Linked DNA regions of Homo sapiens: region 2 is linked to region 1. Evidence: promoter capture Hi-C in human tissues and cell types (Jung and others, 2019). All regions are on one chromosome and are shown on one strand. Each heading gives the region's core, a stretch centred on a gene start or on the middle of the fragment in contact. The rest is flanking DNA. Distances are from core to core; before and after follow the strand shown. Region 1 holds the start of CACTIN (cactin, spliceosome C complex subunit). Region 2 overlaps ZFR2 (zinc finger RNA binding protein 2).

Region 1 (5,486 bases), core at 955-3,454:
AACAACAAGGAGGCTGTATGGCTGAGACAGAGTGTGGGGGAGAGGGAGGAGGCGCGGGCAGGGAGGTGGCTGGGGCTGGTGGCGCAGGAATTATAAGGGTACGAACCAGGGGACCCGAACACATTTAGGCTGTCAAGGGAGGGCTTCCTAGATGGAAGTGGTATTTGAACTAGTCCCACAGGATGGACAGGAGTTAACAGAGTAGAGCGCAGGGAATGGAAGATGCACAACCTCAGGGGTGGTTCAGGGGCCTTTAATTTTATTTATTAGAGACAAGGTCTACTAGACACAGAGTCTACTAGAGACAAGGTCTATATTTTTATTTATTAGAGACAGAGTCTCCCTCTGTCACACAGGCTGGAGTGCATGATCAGAGCTCACTGCAGCCTTGACCTCCTGGGCTCAAGCCATCCTCTCGCCTCAGCCTCCTGAGTAGCGGGGACTACAGGCACACACCACCACGCCCAGGTAACTCTTTACATTTTTTTGTACAGAGGGGTCTTGCTATGTTGCCCAGGCTGGTCTTGAACTCCTGGGCTCAGGCAAGCCTCCTGTCTCAGCCTCCCAAAGTGTTGGGATTACAGATGTGAGCCACTGCGCTCAGTCACGTTTAGGGGTCTTTGTACACAGAGAACTGCCAAATATTTTGTTAAATGCTCTACCCATTAAGCTCATGTCAAAAAAATCTAAACTATGTTGAAACCAATCATTGCAGAGCCCTTAAATATTGGCCACAAGTTCAACTGAATTTTCGTGAACATTAATTCTAATTACATATCTAGAGTGGCAAATTATTGTGAATAATTCCAATACCAGAAAATGGTAGGCGAAAAAACACAAAGATGACATTAACAAGACTTATGGGCAGGCGCGGTGGCTCACGCCTGTAATCCCAGCACTTTGGGAGGCCGAGGCGGGCAGATCACTTGAGGCCAGGAGTTCAAGACCTGCCTGGCCAATATGGAGAAATCCCAGCTCTACGAAAAAATTCAAAAATTAGCTGGGTGTGGCAACAAGCACCTGTAACCCCAGCTACCGGGGAGGCTGAGGCTGAAGAATCGCTTGAACCCAGGAGGCAGAGGTAACAGCCGAGATCGTGCCACTGCACCCCAGCCTGGGCGACAGAGCAAGACTCCGTCTCAAAAACAAACAAACAAAAAAACCAACAACCGATGAGTGAACTTGGCCCAGAGCGGGGCAAGACTGGCCTGAGTGTCAGCCACGAAGGGGCTGAGCCAGCACTGGGGCCCCGGTCTGGGAATCAGTCCCTGTCCCCATTTTGGTTTCTCTGTACTGGAGCCGGCTCAAGGCAAATCCGACCAAGTGCCCCATCTCCAGAAGAAAAGGACCATGGGGAAGCTGAGATTCAGGCACTAGGAATCAGCTGTGAGTCCTGCCAGCTGACACCGAGTCTTTTTCCCTCCCACAGCCCACCTCCATTAGCAAATGTTGTCTCCTCTACTTCCAGAATCCCTCTGAAATCTACGCACTTTGCCCGCTGTGGTTGACTACAGCCTCCCTCCCATCGAGACTGCCATCATCTACTGTCTGGACAATTGTGCCGTCCTACTCTGATGCCGCTCCTGCCTACCCCGCTCCATCCCTTCTCCACCTCAAAGCCAGAAAGTATGCAGAGTTAAGTCAGTCCACGTCACTCCCCTACCCAAACTCCTCTCAAGACTCTCCATTTCCCTCCGACTAATAGCCAAGATCTAATGTGCTGAGCACACAGGGCTCGATATGATATGATCTGATCTCTCGTTACCTCCCCGCCGCCTCGCTCACCCGGCTCCGGGCTGTCCCTCCAACCGCCCGGTCCCCTGCCTGGAACGCCTCTCGCCTTCCTTCCGCTGCCAGGTTAATTCCAACCGGTGGTCAATTGTCCCCTTCTCTAGGAAGCCCTCCCCGAGTAAGTCGGGGGTTTCCCGGTTCCCCGGGATCTCCAACCCTCGGTCGGGCGCTCCTGAGGTAGGAGCCGGATCCCCAGCGCTGCTCCCGCAGCGACCCCACCTGCGCTCCCGGCTCCGCCGCCTCCGTCTGCGCCGTCCCTCGTCCTCCCGGCGCCGTCGGTTTCGCCGCCCATGGCTCCTGCTCCGACTTCGGCTCCCGCTCTGACTCTGCCGCCTTCGGCCCCGGCGACCCGCGGACCGCGAGCGCGAGCGTGTGTCCCGACCCATCGGCTGGGCCAGTGGCCGCGGCACCAACACCAATAGCCGAAGCCTGCGCTGGGGGCCTTCCTCGCCCACGGCGCTCTCCAGGCTGCCCCGTTTGCGCCTGAGCCGGGAAAGAGCAACCCATCCCGTCGCCCCAGCCCGCAAGGACTCCGACACCCCAGACTTTCCACTACGTCTGCAAATGTGGACCGCGTGATTGACTCCAGTGGGATTGTTGCCTCCAGGGTGGCGGAGTCTCCTTTCAGGCAGTGCTGGAGGCAGCCCTAGGCGGGTCCCCACGCCTCAGGGGGCCTGAGAAACTGTGGGCGGGGCAAGGGCAAACTAGGAACCTTGTGCAGGGAGGGGCCTGCCGAGGCGAGACCAATAAGAAGCGGGTCTAGGTCGGAAGTAGCGCTTCATTGGCGTGGCCAGGGGCGTGGCCGAGGAGAGGCGTGTCCGGGGAGCGAGGTCCCCGAAAGGCGAGGAACCGGGAAGGTGTTAGGTGCCAGGCAGCTCCAGAGGGCAGAGGGCGGGCGCGGGGACAGAAACTGAAAAGCCTTCTTATGAGAGTCATCGTTATGCTCCACCACCTGCCAATGAACACCTATGTATTTTGGGAGTTAAGCTTTAAAAAAAAACAAAAACTTTGATAACTCCCTGTATTCCCCCATCAACCCATTTTAGAGACGGGGAAACTGAGGCTCAGAGAGGGAAAGTCACTCTTAACACTTGCCTTCTCAACCCAGGCTGCCCAGCTTTGTGGTGTGGGTGCTGGGGACCCGTGGGAGGGTTGTGAGCAGGGTTTGGGGGACTTGCTGTTGAAACAAGTTTGGCGTGGGAGGACGGACTTCAGGGGCAAGGCTGGAGGCCAGAGACCTAGAAGACGCTGATGTCCCATCCTGAGCTCCCCTAGCCCATGGTGGCTGCTACCACCACCCCGTGCAGTTCTAACCACTCGGGGCTGGGAAGGCCTGTTTATGGAGGATGATAGTAATTTAAGCTAACTTTTAAAATATTTATCTTGGCCGGGCACGGTGGCTCACGCCTGTAACCCCAGCACTTTGAGAGGCCGAGGCGGGCGGATCACCTGAGGTCGGGAGTTCAAGACCAGCCTGGCCAATATGGTGAAACCCTATCTCTACTAAATAATACAAAAATTAGCCGGGTGTGGTGGCATGCACCTGTGATCCCAGCTACTTGGGAGGTTGAGGCAGGGAGAATTGCTTGAACCTGGGAGGCGGAGGTCGCAGTGAGCCGAGATCGTGCCACTGCGCTATGGCCTCGGCGATAGAGCAAGACTCCGTCTCAAAAAAAAAAAGAAAATTAAAATGTTTATCTTGAGTGGGGTGCAGTGGCTCATGCCTGTAATCCCAACACTTTGGGAGGCCGTGGCAGGTGGATCTTGAGGTCAGGAGTTCGAGACCAGCCTGTCCAACATGGCGAAACCCCGTCTCTACTAAAAATACAAAAATTAGCTGGGCATGGTGGCATGCTTGTAATTCCAGCTACTCGGGAGGCTGAGGCAGAAGAATCGCTTGAACCCAGGAGGCAGAGGTTCCTGTGAGTTGAGATCGCATCATTGCACTCCAACCTGGGCGACAGAGCAAGTCCCCGTCTCAAATAAATAAATAAATAAATAAATAAATAAATAAAACGTTTATCTTGGAATACAACTTCATAACATCCCCGTAAACGCTGGCTTTGTATGCTTTGCTTGGTGTTAAGGCAAGGATGGAACCTTACAGAGGAAGAAGAGACCATCTCCTGCCGCTCTAGATGATGACCTTGCCGGTCCTGAGATGTGGGTTGTCATGCTGATGGGATGGCCCAAAACAAAGCGAAGGCCTGACCCTGTGCTTCCCAAAATTCAGATGCATCCTTGCAGCACATTAAGAGATCACTTGCATGGGCCGGGCGCGGTGGCTCAGTCCTGTAATCCCAGCACTTTGAGAGGCCAAGGTGGGTGGATCACCTGAGTTCAGGAGTTCGAGACCAGCCTTGTCAACATGGTGAAACCCCACCTCTACTAAAAATACAAAATTTAGCCGGGTGTAGTGCCAGGCACCTGTAGTCCCAGCTACTCAGGAGGCCGAGGAAGAATTGCTTGAACCTGGGAGGCGGAGGTTGCAGTGAGCTGAGATCGTACCATTGCATTCCAGCCTGGGTGACAGAGCGAGACTCCATCTCAAAAAAAAAAAACAAAAAAACAAAAAACAAACTTAAAACAACGAGATCACCTCCATGTTCAGTTTATAAAACAGCTGTGCTGAAACGTTCCAACGGCTCCCTTACAGACAGGATCTTACTTTTTTTTTTTTTTTTTTTTTGAGACATTTTCTTGCTCTGTCGCCCAGGCTGGAGTGCAGGGGCATGATCTCAGCTCACTGCAAACTCTGCCTCCCAGGTTGGAGCAATTCTCTGGCCTCAGCCTCCCGAGTAGCTGGGATTACAGGTGTGAGCCATCACGCCTGGCCAGGATCTTGTTTTCAATGTAGTTTCTCAACCTGGGAGTCCAAGATAAATGTGTTCCCTTCAAGGGGTCCAAACGTGACTGAATTGGAACCGCTCTAGCAGAACAAATACAAACTTTGGGGGGCTGCAAAGATGTTGGAAACAATAAAATGTTTTCTGAGCTGAACTGGGACCTGAAGAAGGTTCACAGCTGGTAAGGTGTTTGGGTCCTATTACTGGTATCAGCATCAATCTCACAAAGGTTTCTCTCTTCTCTAAGATTCAAAGTCAGTCCTCAGGCCAGGCACGGTGGCTTACGCCTGTAATCTCAGCACTTTGGGATGAGGCGGGTGGGTCCTTTGAGGTCAGGAGTTTGAGACCAGCCTGGCCAATGTGGTGAAACCCCGTCTCTACTAAAAATACAAAAAAATTAGCCAGGTGTGGTGGCGGGCGCCTGTGGTCCCAGCTACTCGGGAGGCTGAGGCAGGAGAATGGCTTGAACCCGGGAGGCAGAGGTTGCAGTGAGCTGAGATCACTCCACTGCGCTCCAGCCTGGGCAACAGAACGAGACTCCATCTCAAAAAAAAAAAAAACAAAACACAGGCTGGGTGCGGTGGCTCACACCTGTAATCCCAGCACTTTGGGAGGCCGAGGTGGGCGGATCACGAGGTCAGGAGATCGAGACCATCCTGGCTAACATGGTGAAACCCTGCCTCTACTAAAAATAAAAAATTAGCTGGGCGTGGTGGCGGGCGCCTGTAGTCCCAGCTACTCAGGAGGCTGAGGCAGGAGAATGGTGTGAACCCAGGAGACGGAGCTTGCAGTGAGCTGAGATTGCGCCACTGCACTCCAGCCTGGGTGGAGAGCGAGACTCCATCTCTT
Region 2 (5,037 bases), core at 513-3,012, 190 kb after region 1:
ATGGACAGAGTCAAACTGAGCTTCTGCCGTGACCCAGGGGAAATGGCTCAGACCTGTCCTTTGCCGCCAGGGCTGGTGTCACCAGGGCCTGAGAAGCAGGTGCCAGCCCTGGGTAAGGGCAAGGGAGGTGACACGGTGTCGCTTGCCCGAGCAAGGCCCCTGCAGCCAGGCTCTGAGCCCATCTGATGCTGTCACCGACTCGCCGCCTCTGCTGCCCGGAGACCCAGCTCTTGTGTGACCCATGGAATCCTCAGGGGGACAGCAGTGCTGGAGCGTGGCTGCTGTGGCATTTCCTGCTCAGGGCAGAGGCGGACGCTGCCCCAGGCCTGGGTGTGGGGAGCGCCCTGGGGAAGCGTGAGGGGGACAGTGGTTGGAAGGAAGGGCTGGGCCGCACCTGGGTCTGTGGAGGGGTCCTCCCGCATCAGAGGTGAGGTGACAGATATGGTGACCTGCATCCTGGGCTCCTCACAGGAGGAGATGACAATGTTGGCTTCAGGGTCGGAGGAGACCTCATACTCATCCTCGGTCACCATCTGGGAGGGGTAAATACAACACAAGGCCACCTTACTGCAGCCCAGATTCATGTGTAAATCAGCCAGGATGTGGTTGGTGTGTGTAAATTAATCCCGTCGGGCCTCCCACACTTGCTGCCTGGGTGCCGGGCCCTGTGCCCTGTGTCTGGAACCTCCAAGTGACCAAGACACAGCCGCAGCCCTCCAGGAGTGCACACATGTAGAGATATGTACAGACAACAGATCATGTGATGCAAGGAGCCTCCATATGTAAAGAATACCTGTAATTCAATAACAAGAAGACCAGCAATCCAATAAAAAAATTGGTGAGTGAAATAACAGATACCTGGCAGAAAAAGAAACACAAATGGCCCTTTTTACACAGTGACACACATTACCCCATAGTCAGGGAGGAGTAAACTAAAACCATAATGAGACGCCACCATCTCCTGTGAGCAGGACATAGCTCAAGAGGTCTGTGTCACAGTCTGGTCTTCCTGTCCATGGTCATCACCCTCCATGAGGCCTGTGCTCACACCTGAGCCTGGCCTCCCACCTGAAACGCACCTCTCTCCCCATCCTCCATCCCTTCCCTTCTCAGGGCCTCCCTGCTGCAAGGCAGCCCCCAGGGGGCTCCGTTGACATTACTGGGGTGGATGTTGTCAGCTTCCCCACAGCCTTATACATTCTCATGGGGCTCAGTTATTGTCTTTGCCACCAGGCTGCAAGTTTTCCAGAAAGCAGGGGCTGTATCTATCATGTTGTGGCCACTGTCATGTTGTAGGTGTGCAGGAAATGTGAGATGCAATTATTGAAGTCAGAGCATGTCACTCCCCTGCTCAAAACCCTCCAGCCTCCCCACTTCCCTAAGAATGCAATCCTACCTCCTGGTACGGCCTTCAGGCCTGGCTTGATCTAGGTGCCCCCTCATTCCCTCGTGCCCACCCCTCCTTGCTCTGGGCCTCCTGCTTTTTGGCCTCTGCAGGTGCTGGTCATTCTATGGGGAACACTGTCTCCCCGACCAGGCACTGCCCATCCACTGGGCATCCAGTGCCCACTGGAAAAGTCAAAGGAGTAAGGCTGAGTTTTCCCAGGGATGGTGACAGACGCTCAGGAAGAAGGAACGACTCTGGGGACTGATTTTTCATTTTTCTTTCTTTCTTTTTTTTTAAGACAGAGTCTTACTCTGTGGCCCAGGCTAGAGTGCAGTGGCACTATCTCTGCTCACTGCAACCTCTGCCTCCAGGGCTCAAATGGTTCCCCTCCCTCAGCCTCCTGAGTAGCTGGGATTACAGGCGCCCACCACCATGCCCGGCTAATTTTTGTATTTTTAGTACAGATGGGGTTTTACTATGATGGCCAAGCTGGTCTCGAACTCCGGACCTCAGGTGATCCACCTGCCTTGGCCTCCCAAAGTGTTGGGATTACAGGCATGAGCCACCACGCCAGGCCCGATTTTTCTTTTTAAACCTAAGATGATCAATGTAAATTCTTCAGTATGAGAAGAGTATATGAAAATTCTCTAGAGGAAAAAAATTCAGTTGACATTTCACAGCCCTAAAATTGAAATTGGGTTTTTGCTTTTCTTACGGCTTCCTAGTCGCCATTGCTGCGAATGTTTTCTGTGCAGCTTTCATCATCATTTACTCTTTTTGAATTTCTTTTGAGACTGAGTTTTGCTCTGTTGCCCGGGCTGGAGTGCAGTAGTGAATCACAGCTCACTGAAGCCTCGAACTCTTGGGCTCAAGGGATTCTCCCGCTTCAGCTCCCTGAGTAGCTGGGACCACAGGTACATGCCGCCATGCTCAGCTAATTTTTTTTTTTTTTTTTTTTAGACGGAGTCTCGCTCTGTCGCCCAGGCTGGAGTGCAGTGGCGCGATCTCGGCTCACTGCAACCTCTGCCTCCCGGGTTCATGCCATTCTCCTGCCTCAGCCTCCCGAGTAGCTGAGACTACAGGCGCCCGCCACCACGCCTGGCTAATTTTTTTTTTGTATTTTTAGTAGAGACGGGGTTTCACCGTGTTAGCCAGGATGGTCTCGATCTGCTGACCTCGTGATCTGCCCATCTCAGCCTCCCAAAGTGCTGGGATTACAGGTGTGAGCCACCCCGGCTGGCCCATGCTCAGCTAATTTTTAAGTTTTTTGCAGATACAGGTTCTCACTATGTTGCCCAGGCTGGTCTCAAACTCCTGGACTCGAGTGATCCTCCTGCCTCAGCCTCTCAAAGTGCTGGGATTTCAGGTGTGAGCCACCATGCCTGGCTAACAAACTGGTTGGTTTCTAACAGCGATGCTTCTTCTTGTATCTTTTTTTTTTTTTTTTTTTTGAGACCCAGTCTCGCTCTGTCGCCCAGGCTGGAGGGCAGCAGTGCAATCTCAGCTCAGTGCAACCTCTGCCTCCGGGATTTAAGTGATTCTCCCACTTCAGCCTCCCACATAGCTGGAATTACAGGCACATGTCACCAGGCCTGGCTAATTTCTGTATTTTTAGTAGAGACGGTGTTTCACCATGTTGGCCAGGCTGGTTTCAAACTCCTGACCTCAAGCGATCCACCTGCCTCAGCCTCCCTAAGTGCTGGGATTACGGACGTGAGCCACTGCGCCTGGCTTAATGCTTCTTGTACCTTAAAGTTGTGTAGTAACAAAGGTCCCCTGCCATCTAGGAGCGCAAGGGGCTGCGGGGAGAGGGCTGGCAGCCAGACGCCAGAAGCAGCGATGAGCAGGGCCCTGACCTTACCTGGAGCTGCCGGGGCAGCTGCTGGGCGATCCTCCGCAGCAGGCTGTGCGTGGGCTTCTCGGAGCAGAGCAGAGCGAGGCGCACGTTCCTGTCCCCACGCAGGAGGAGGCCTTTCGCCAGGATGCCTACTCGCATGACGCCTTTCAGGACCCGAGTCTGGGGGGCAACGCTGCTGTGGGGACAAAGCCACAGACGTGCGCCATCAGCGGAGAGACGCGGGGTACCCCAGCTGCCTCCCTCCTGAGCTACGGGGACCCTGCAAGTTACAGAGCCTCTCTGTGCCTCGGCATCCTCATCCATGAAATGGGACCAGGCCGCTCTGTCGGAGGCGCTTGCGGGATGAAATGAGACACCGTGAGATCGATCTCGGAGGTGCTGTCACCGGGCATGCCTCGGAGTAGCCGGGACGCGTGGCCAAACCCACATTTTCCTTCCTTGTGAGCAAACGCTAAGCCCCAGGCCCGCCCCGCGAGGTCTGGTGGCTCCCGCGTTCACGGACTCTGTCACCCTGTTGTTTCGGCTCCACATGGGTTCCAGAGAGGACAGAAAGCAAGGCTGCTTTCTGCTCTTGCTTCACGGGGGTTAAGAAAATTCACAAACCTAGGCCGGGCGCAGTGGCTCACGCCTGTAATCCCAGCACTTTGGGAGGCCGAGGTGGGCAGATCACTTGAGGTCAGGAGTTTGAGACCAGCCTGACCAACATGGCGAAAACCCATCTCTAATAAAAATATAAGAATTAGCCAGGCATGGTGGCGGGTGCCTGTAATCTCAGCTACTTGGGAGGCTGAGGCAGGAGAATCGCTTGAACCCAGGAGATGGAGGTTGCAGTGAGCCGAGATTGTGTCACTGAACTCCAGTTTGGGAGACAGAGCAAGACTCCATCTCAAAATAATGATAATAATAATAATAATAATAATAATAATAATAATAATAATTAGCTGGGTGTGGTGGTACATTCCTGTAGTTCCAGTACTTGGAAGGCTGAGGCAGGAGAATCACTTGAACCTGGGAGGCAGAGGTTGCTGTGAGCCGAGATCGCACCACTGCACTCCAGCCTGGGCAACAGAGCAAGACTCAGTCTCAAAAAAGAAAAAAAAAAAAAAAAAAGGAGAGGGCAGCTTCCTGGGCGCTCCTTGTATTGGGACACTTTGCAACCCACAGGTGCAAGGCTCACATTTCCTATATGGAGCTCTGTGCTCCAGCAAAAGGAAGCCCTCAGGCCAAGTGGATCAGCCAGACACAAAAGGCCACACGGTGTGCGACCCCATTTCTATGAACTGTCCAGCACAGGCCAATCCACAGAGACAGGGCGGGCACGCATGGGTGCACGAAACAAAAAGAGGAGTTTGCTTAATTGGGACAGAGCTTCTGTTTGGGAAGATGAGACAGCTGTGGAGATGGACAGGGGTGTAGTTTGCACGTGTGAACGTGCTTCATGCCCCTGAACTGTGCACTTAGACAGGTTAAAATGCTCAGTGTTGTGTGATGTGGATTTTACCACAATAGAGAAGCATTCAAAGAGGAAAGTGAACCCGTAATCCCGGCACTTTGGGAGGCCGAGGTGGGAGGATCGCTTGAGCCCGGGAGTTCAAGACCAGCCTGGCTAACATAGCGAGACCTCTCCCTGCTACAAAGAGTTAACAATTAGCTGGGTGTGGTGGTGGGCGCCTGCAGTCCCAGCTACTCGGGAGGCTGAGGCGGGAGGACAGCTTGAGCCCGGGGGTCTGAGGGTCAGTGAGCTCTGATCGCGCCATTGCCCTCCAGCCTGGGTAACAGAGTGAGATCTGTT

Evidence for each region. The method cuts DNA at HindIII sites, captures the fragments that hold promoters and counts their contacts. A contact is called where the count stands out against the background at its distance.
Region 2: a contact is called between a fragment that was not itself captured here and the fragment with the promoter of CACTIN in region 1, in 2 of the 25 tissues and cell types used here (mesendoderm cells and pancreas).

What each region holds. Positions count from the first base shown.
Region 1 is chr19:3,624,586-3,630,071 of GRCh38, forward strand. CACTIN (cactin, spliceosome C complex subunit) reads right to left here and starts at 2,205. Exons shown (of 10, transcript NM_001080543.2): 1 at 2,011-2,205. The coding sequence starts at 2,177. RefSeq lists enhancers at 1-367, 594-1,155, 1,156-1,717, 1,718-2,279, 2,169-2,538. The HindIII fragment of the contact is 17,013 bases long and covers 1-5,486 here.
Region 2 is chr19:3,813,426-3,818,462 of GRCh38, forward strand. ZFR2 (zinc finger RNA binding protein 2) reads right to left here. Exons shown (of 19, transcript NM_015174.2): 13 at 3,249-3,420; 14 at 395-533. Among named protein-coding and RNA genes, the nearest start is that of MATK, 30 kb to the left of the region's middle. RefSeq lists a silencer at 5,006-5,037. The HindIII fragment of the contact is 9,278 bases long and covers 1-5,037 here.